Regions from separate parts of the Homo sapiens genome. Here region 2 is linked to region 1. The links are contacts of gene promoters, found by promoter capture Hi-C in blood cells and fetal thymus (Javierre and others, 2016). All regions are on one chromosome and are shown on one strand. The core of a region is centred on a gene start or on the middle of the fragment in contact, and the rest is flanking DNA. Distances in the headings are between cores, read along the strand shown.

The links. Contacts are between HindIII fragments. The CHiCAGO score rates a contact against its expected background, and 5 or more counts as called.
Region 2: a fragment that was not itself captured here is called in contact with the fragment with the promoter of GLRX3 in region 1 in 5 of 17 cell types (activated CD4 T cells, naive CD8 T cells, total CD8 T cells and 2 more); the score reaches 8.4 in activated CD4 T cells.

What each region holds. Positions count from the first base shown.
Region 1 is chr10:130,134,753-130,138,123 of GRCh38, forward strand. It overlaps GLRX3 (glutaredoxin 3), which reads left to right and starts at 1,639. Exons shown (of 11, transcript NM_006541.5): 1 at 1,639-1,760. The coding sequence starts at 1,669. It overlaps LOC105378561 (a long non-coding RNA gene), which reads right to left and starts at 1,619. Exons shown (of 6, transcript XR_001747659.2): 1 at 1-1,619. RefSeq lists a silencer at 1,621-2,220 and enhancers at 2,421-2,470, 2,749-3,371. The HindIII fragment of the contact is 5,217 bases long and covers 1-2,978 here.
Region 2 is chr10:129,875,925-129,879,295 of GRCh38, forward strand. It overlaps EBF3 (EBF transcription factor 3), which reads right to left. Exons shown (of 17, transcript NM_001375380.1): 7 at 1,844-1,925. Among named protein-coding and RNA genes, the nearest start is that of EBF3-AS1, 20 kb to the left of the region's middle. The HindIII fragment of the contact is 580 bases long and covers 1,578-2,157 here.

The DNA.
Region 1 (3,371 bases), core at 389-2,888:
CAGGCCAATGGAGGACAAGCACAGTTCTACAACATGAGACAGGCCACGGTAGAAGCAAGCAAAGGAGGCCTGGGAACACCTGGCTAGTAGGGAAGGCTCTGTGGGGGCTTGGCCTCAAAGCCCAGGGACAGCAGGGGGACCAGTCAGAAGGAGCCCCAAGTGTCTGGGTGGGAGCGATGGTGTTCCCTGAGATGGGAACCAAGAGGAGAGGCACTTTGGAGGGAAGGCCCAGTGTGGTTTGGGGATATCCAATAAAAGATGGCCCCTCCTCAAAGTTAGTGGATGCTAGGCTCTGGGATGCAGGGGAGGGTTCTGGGCTTGCTATTGAGGTTTCCCTGGAGGTTGATGTCACTGGGGGCATGGAGATTACTCAGGCCAGAAGGTGTGTGGGAAGCATGGGGTGTGGGGTACAGAGTACACCACATGGAGAGCCAACATCAGGGGGATTCCCAAGGGAGAAAGACAAGCCAGGGATCATCCAAGGAGGCAAGACGGGAGGAGTGCAGGGATCTGTGGACCCACCCAGCCCCTTCTGTTCTGAGGTTACAATGGGTGATGGCTCTGTGGGGCTGCAATGAGTGGCGGCACGCGCGGAGGGCCAGGGGAGGAGGGACATGCTGTGGGCTCCGGGTTCAGGTCCCAGGACTGAATTGGAAGCACCCTGTCTGTGTTGAAGTTCAAGATCTACCACTTCTGTTCCCAGACCTCCCAGTTCTTCCTCACCTTTATGCAATTTCATTTTTGATAATTTCAGCTTCCTAAATGTACACATCTGACTTCACTTTCACTCACATGTCTCACCCCCACCCCTCCACCGGCCCCTTCTATTACAGACCCAGGAGACACAGGAAGTGCAAGGAAGGTCTGGAGCCCCAAAAGCCAGGAGCCTCAGGAGTCAGGTGTCCTGACAGCCAGGAACCCTGACACCCAGGAGCCCTGGCACCCAGGAACCCCAACAGCCAGAAGCCTCTACCACCAGGAGCCCTGACAGCAAGGAACCCCGACACCCAGGAGCCCCTACTACAGCCAGGAAGCCAGGAACCCTAACACCAGGAGCCCTGACACCCAGTCACCCCGACAGCCAGGAAGCCAACAGCAAGAAGCCTCTACCACCAGGAGCCCTGACAGCAAGGAACCCCGACACCCAGGAGCCCCTGCTATAGCCAGGAACCCTAACACCCAGGAGCCCCTACAGTCAGGAACCCCGACACCCAGGGGTCCCGACAGCCAGGAACCCCGACACCCAGGGGTCCCGACAGCCAGGGGCCATTACGGCCAGGAGCCCCGACAGCCAGGGACCTCGACGGCCAGAATCCACTACATCCAGAAGCCCTTATAACCGGGAACCTCCATAGCCAGGAGCCCCTACAGCCAGGAGCCCCTTCAGCCAGGGAGCCCCGAAAGCCAGGAGCCCCGACAGCCAGGAACCATAACAGCCATGAACCCCGGGAGCCAGGAGGCCCGCAGCGGAGTGCCCAGACTTGGCAGGGTCAGAGCCCCCCAGCGGGATCCAGAGCCCGCCGCCGAGGCCCCTTTTGGGATTTCTCAGGCTCGGCAGCCTCAGCGCAGGCAGGGGCGGGGCTTTCCCTCGCGCAGCCGCTCAGCTCCCCGTGGCCCCGCCCACATCCGGCCGCCGGCACTGGATTGCTTCTGTCTGGCGGCGGCAGCATGGCGGCGGGGGCGGCTGAGGCAGCTGTAGCGGCCGTGGAGGAGGTCGGCTCAGCCGGGCAGTTTGAGGAGCTGCTGCGCCTCAAAGCCAAGTAAGCGGGGCGGCGAGCGGTAGGAGTGAGGAGCCGGAGCGGGAGCGGCCGCGAGACCGGGCCGGTGTGGGGCGGCGGGTGGCCCAGCCTGGCTTCTTGGTGCCCGGCTCCCTTCGGCCTCGGGGGACCGGGCCCGGCGCCACCCGTAGACTCCCCCGAGCCTCCGCGTGAGTGGCCCGAGCCGCAGGTTCCCCGCCCCGGAACAGCGAGCAGGGCGCGAGGCTCGCCTGGAAGCCCCGGCCCCAGCCCTGGCTCCGACCCCGACGGCTGTCCAAGCCCGGGGGACGCGACCTTCCCGGCCTCTGGCCTGGGCGGCCCCGCCGCGGGACGGAGGCGGTGGTGACTCAGCCGTGCCGCAGTGGCGGGGCGGGGGACGGGGCGGCGCCGAGACCCCGGCCCTCCGCGCCACGGAGCGGGACCCACGGCTGCGGGCTCCACCTTTCCTGTGCCCGCCGGGAGGGAGCGGCAGGCTCGGCGTCGGCCCATTGCTCTTCAGCCTCCCTTCAGGAACGCCCCTGTCGCAGGAAGAGCGGCGAGGGAAGGCCCCGTTGCATTAGCTAGGCCTGGCTGCCTTTTGAAGTCAGCCTTTAAAGTTTGTTGGACAGCAGGTAGCCTCAGTCTTCAGACTTAACCTGTTGCCGGAGACAGAGATTTCCTGTTCCATGAACTGGTGTAGTGAGAGTCTGTTCAGATTTGGCGCCGGTGTCCAGGTCTTCAATCCCTGGGAAGACTACAAAAGGAGATCCAGAGGAATGCATAGAAAGCGTTTTCTGGGTGGACTAGAAGCTCTGAACTGCAAGCATGCTTACGAGTAAATGCTTACTAGCGTGCGTGCCTGCAGGGAAAGGTCTGCACGTGGACTCTCCGTGATAATACCACCTCACATTGTAGACTACTCCAAGGACTGAGTTGTTCTCTTAGTTGTATTATTAGCGGTTGTTATGGGAACTCTTATGTCGGATTGCCTGGGATCCAGTCCCACCGCAGCCACTCAGTAGCCATGTAACCCCTGGGCACGTTTCATGCCCAAGCCTCAGTTTCCCGACGGTGACATAGATTAGCACCTGTTAGTACCTCAGGGTTGTTGTGAGGGTTAAATGAGATGACGTATGTAAAATACAAATAATACAATGCCTAGTATGCAGGAAGCACTCAGTAGATGTTGGCACTTAGTATTTCAGTAGGAAGTAGAATGGTTCATGGAATTCACAGGCAAAAAGCTTTGTTTTGTTTTGTTTTTGAGACAGGGTCTGGCTCTGTCACCCAGGCTGCAGTGTAGTGGAGCGATCACGGCTCCCTGCAGCCTCCGCCTCCCAGGCTCAAGTGATCGACCCACCTCATCCTCCCGAGTAGCTGGGACCACAGGTGCTCACCACCACGCCCGTCTAATTTTTATTTTTTTTTATAGAGACGAGGTCTCGCCATGTTGCCCAGCCTCGTCTCGACCTTCTGGACTCGAGCGATCTGCCCTCCTCAGCCTCCCAAAGGGTTGGGATTACAGGTGTGAGCTACCACGTCCGGCCAGAAATGCTTATTGATCTAAATTTTGTTTTGTTTGTTTTCGAGACAGGCTGTTGCTCTGTTGCCCAGGCTGAGTGCAGTGGCGTGATC
Region 2 (3,371 bases), core at 618-3,117, 260 kb before region 1:
TCTGAATATGATGCAAAGATGCGTAACTAACACTGAGGTGCAGACTTAACCCTTTTTACGTTCCTAAACATGATAGGTTAAAGAAACATGAAAAAGTAAAAACAAATTTAAAAAGTTTTTAAAGACACAGGCTTTGCAGTCATCTACATATAGGTCAGCCACGAAGGGTAAAGAGTGTAGTTCAGCAGAGAGAGCAGGCAAGCTGTGCTCTGTGTCTCACCTGGGCTGTAGCACCTACAGAAAGCTGCTGAGATTGTGAAAGCAGCTGAAACTATTGTGTAAGCACTGCCATCCTCCTAGGTCAGTTACACCTTCTGAGAGGCATGGGGCTCAGCTAAAGAGACCAGAGGAAGTTCTAGTAACTACGGGGTCTGCAGTCAACCACGAGATCACCTGTAACTGACGCTGTGTTCAGTCATTGGTGAGACAAAGAGGACACAGCCCCTCAGCCCTGCCTGACTTCCATTCTGCTTAGAAGGATCAATATCACCAGTATCCTGTGAAGCCTAGTGCGTGACAAATGGAAGCAGACCCAACTGTTCGCAGGAAACACTGTCCCCAGCTGCAGACATGACTGTGGGCGGGCCCAAAGAGCCCGCCTCCTCTGACCAGCTGACCGGGCAGGCATGGAGACAGATGTCACGTGATTCACTAAAGGACTGAGGCATAAGTTAAATTTCTGAGAAATGCTTTGAGCTATTTGATGGAAAAACTGGGTAAATCCCAAACAGGAATCATTCTGCTCTTGGGTCATTCATCCAAGCTAGTGGTCATTTCCATTAGCCGCCAAATTCTTCTCTGGCTGGTTTTGTATTCTAGCCCAGACTATTTTTACAATTAAAATTAGCAAAATCATCCAATGTGTTTACCCTGAATTAGCTTCCTAATCATTCACAAAAAAGGCAAGAAAAATATGAATCTATCATAATGGTACATAAATCTATCATAATTCATCCCTGAACCCCCCCCCCCCCCCCACCCAGCTACCCCTCTGTATCCGTCTTTTGGATAAAATCTTCTGAGGCAAACCAGAGACAGGACTTAGCCTGAGTTTAGGAACAGATGCAACTAGCATGGAAAGTGGGCAATAAGAACACAGTAAACCTCGGGGGAAGGAAGCCGAGGCCAGGAAGAGACTCTGGCAGTTGCAGAGGTCTGTACTAAGCAGGTGCAGATCCCTCTATGAGGAGGATCTCAGATCTGGAGTATTCCCAAAAGGTTGCATTATAGTTCTCCTCCCACTGAAAATCAATCCCTCAATCAATCCCAAAAGAAGCACTTCTGGGCTGGGCACGGTGGCTCACGCCTGTAATCCCAGCACTTTCAGAGGCCAAGGCAGGCGGATTACTTGAGGTCAGGAGCTTGAGACCAGCCTGGAAAACATATTGAAACCCCATCTCTACTAAAAATACTGGGTGTGGTGGTGTGCGCCTGTAATCCCAGCTACTCAGGAGGCTGAGGCAGGAGAATCCCTTGAACCTGGGAGGCGGAGGTTGTAGTGAGCCAAGATCGCACCACTGCACTCTAGCCTGGGATACAGAGCAAGACTCTGTCTCCAAAAAAAAAAAAAAAAAAAAAGCTTCCACATGGCCATGTTTTCAAAGCTAAGTTCGCTGTTCGCTATATTGTGCCCACATTAGACTTGATGAATCTGGCATACTGAATATACCAGATCATTCTTAAAGCATTTTATTTGCATATTTTTATCAAATGCACCAATTCCAGTTTGCTTCCAAGCCCTTAAAGAACTCAAGATTACTTCCTGAACAGTTGCAAATCAGAGAATTCAAATTTGGTATGAAAAGTCAGGACCACGGTCCACGTGTCTTTGAGAAATGTATACCTGGAATCTCCGCATATCTCGAGGGTTGCCTGCATTCTTCAAACAGTTCTGATTGCACTTGAGGAAAAACTTTAGAAAGAATCTATAAAAAATACAAAAAGATGATATTTATTAGGGTTATCAGACAAAAGACTCAAACTTTTTAAAAGACACTCTTGCGCAGGGAGGAGTGGAGACTCAACCCCACAGCTTCCACACTTCCCTCTAGGGGGCGACATTGAGAAGAGGCTCTGGGAGAGGCGGCGAGGAGGCACCCAGAAATAGCCACACAGGAGAGCAGTGAGTTGCATTTGCCTTGACGCTGTGGGTGTCCAAGCTTTATGATAATAGCTGCGACTTTCGCATTGGCATTTCTTGGCTCAATCTTTGCACAACTGCCCATTAACCATGGGGGAAACATTCAGCCCAGACAGGCCTACCATCTCAACCCACTAAAAATGAAGGATGCCTAGTTAAATTTGAATTTTGGATAAACAAAAAATAATGTCCCAAAGCATACTCCTCACTAAAAAATTGCTGTTGACCTGAAATGGAAATTTCACTGGATGTGCCATATCTTATCTGGCAACCCTAATTCCAGAGGCTACCACTGCCTAAGCAAACACACTTTTAAATATGGGTTTTAAGAGTTACAGTAGCGCCTGTAATCCCAGCACTTTGGGAGGCTGAGGTGGGCAGATGACTTGAGGTCAGGAGTTCGAGACAAGCCTGGCCAACATGGTGAAACCCCATCTCTACTAAAAATACAAAAATCAGCCAGGTGCGGTGGCATGTGCCTATAATCCCAGCTACTCGGGAGGCTGAGGCAGGAGAATCGCTTGAACCCAGGAGGTTCAGTGAGCCGAGATCGTGCCAGTGCACTCCAGCCTGGTTGACAGCTCAAGGCTCTGTCTCAAAAAAAAAAAAAAAAAAAAAAGAGTTACAGTAGGTACAGCTCTTAAAAAGCAATTGGGGGGTGGGGCAGGAGAATCACTTGAACCCAGGAGGTGGAGGTTGCAGTGAGCGGAGATTGCACCACTGCACTCCAGCCTGGGCAACACAGTGAAAATCGGTCTCAAAAAAAAAAAAAAAAAAAAAAATCTAAGAACTGATTGGGAGGCATATTGTTTTAACCAAGAATTCTTGAGGCGGTAATGAAACTGTTGCTGAGGCAGAAAGCAAGGAACAGCACTCTGCAGGGCTGGGGAGGTGAGGCCGAAGCGAGTGCTATTTCCATTTCCCGCCATGCCTTGCCCTTATGTTTCATGGCATGAAGATTCAGGGGTCCTGACAGTGTGTTGAGATGCTGTGACTAAAACGTCATCATGTTGTCCTCCGCATTCCTGCATGCTCAGTGACATTGCAGGAGAGCTGGCTTCCAGTCTGAACTCAAAGAACCTGGGAAGCCAGGCTCTACCACTACCCACAGGAAAAGTGGGTGGGGGGGTTTCTCCCTGTATAACCTCTGCCTCAACTTGAAAAGGCCACAACCAAGAGGTCCCAGAGCTTGGGTCTGTGCTGAAACACCCACTCTCTGCACGTGGCCAAG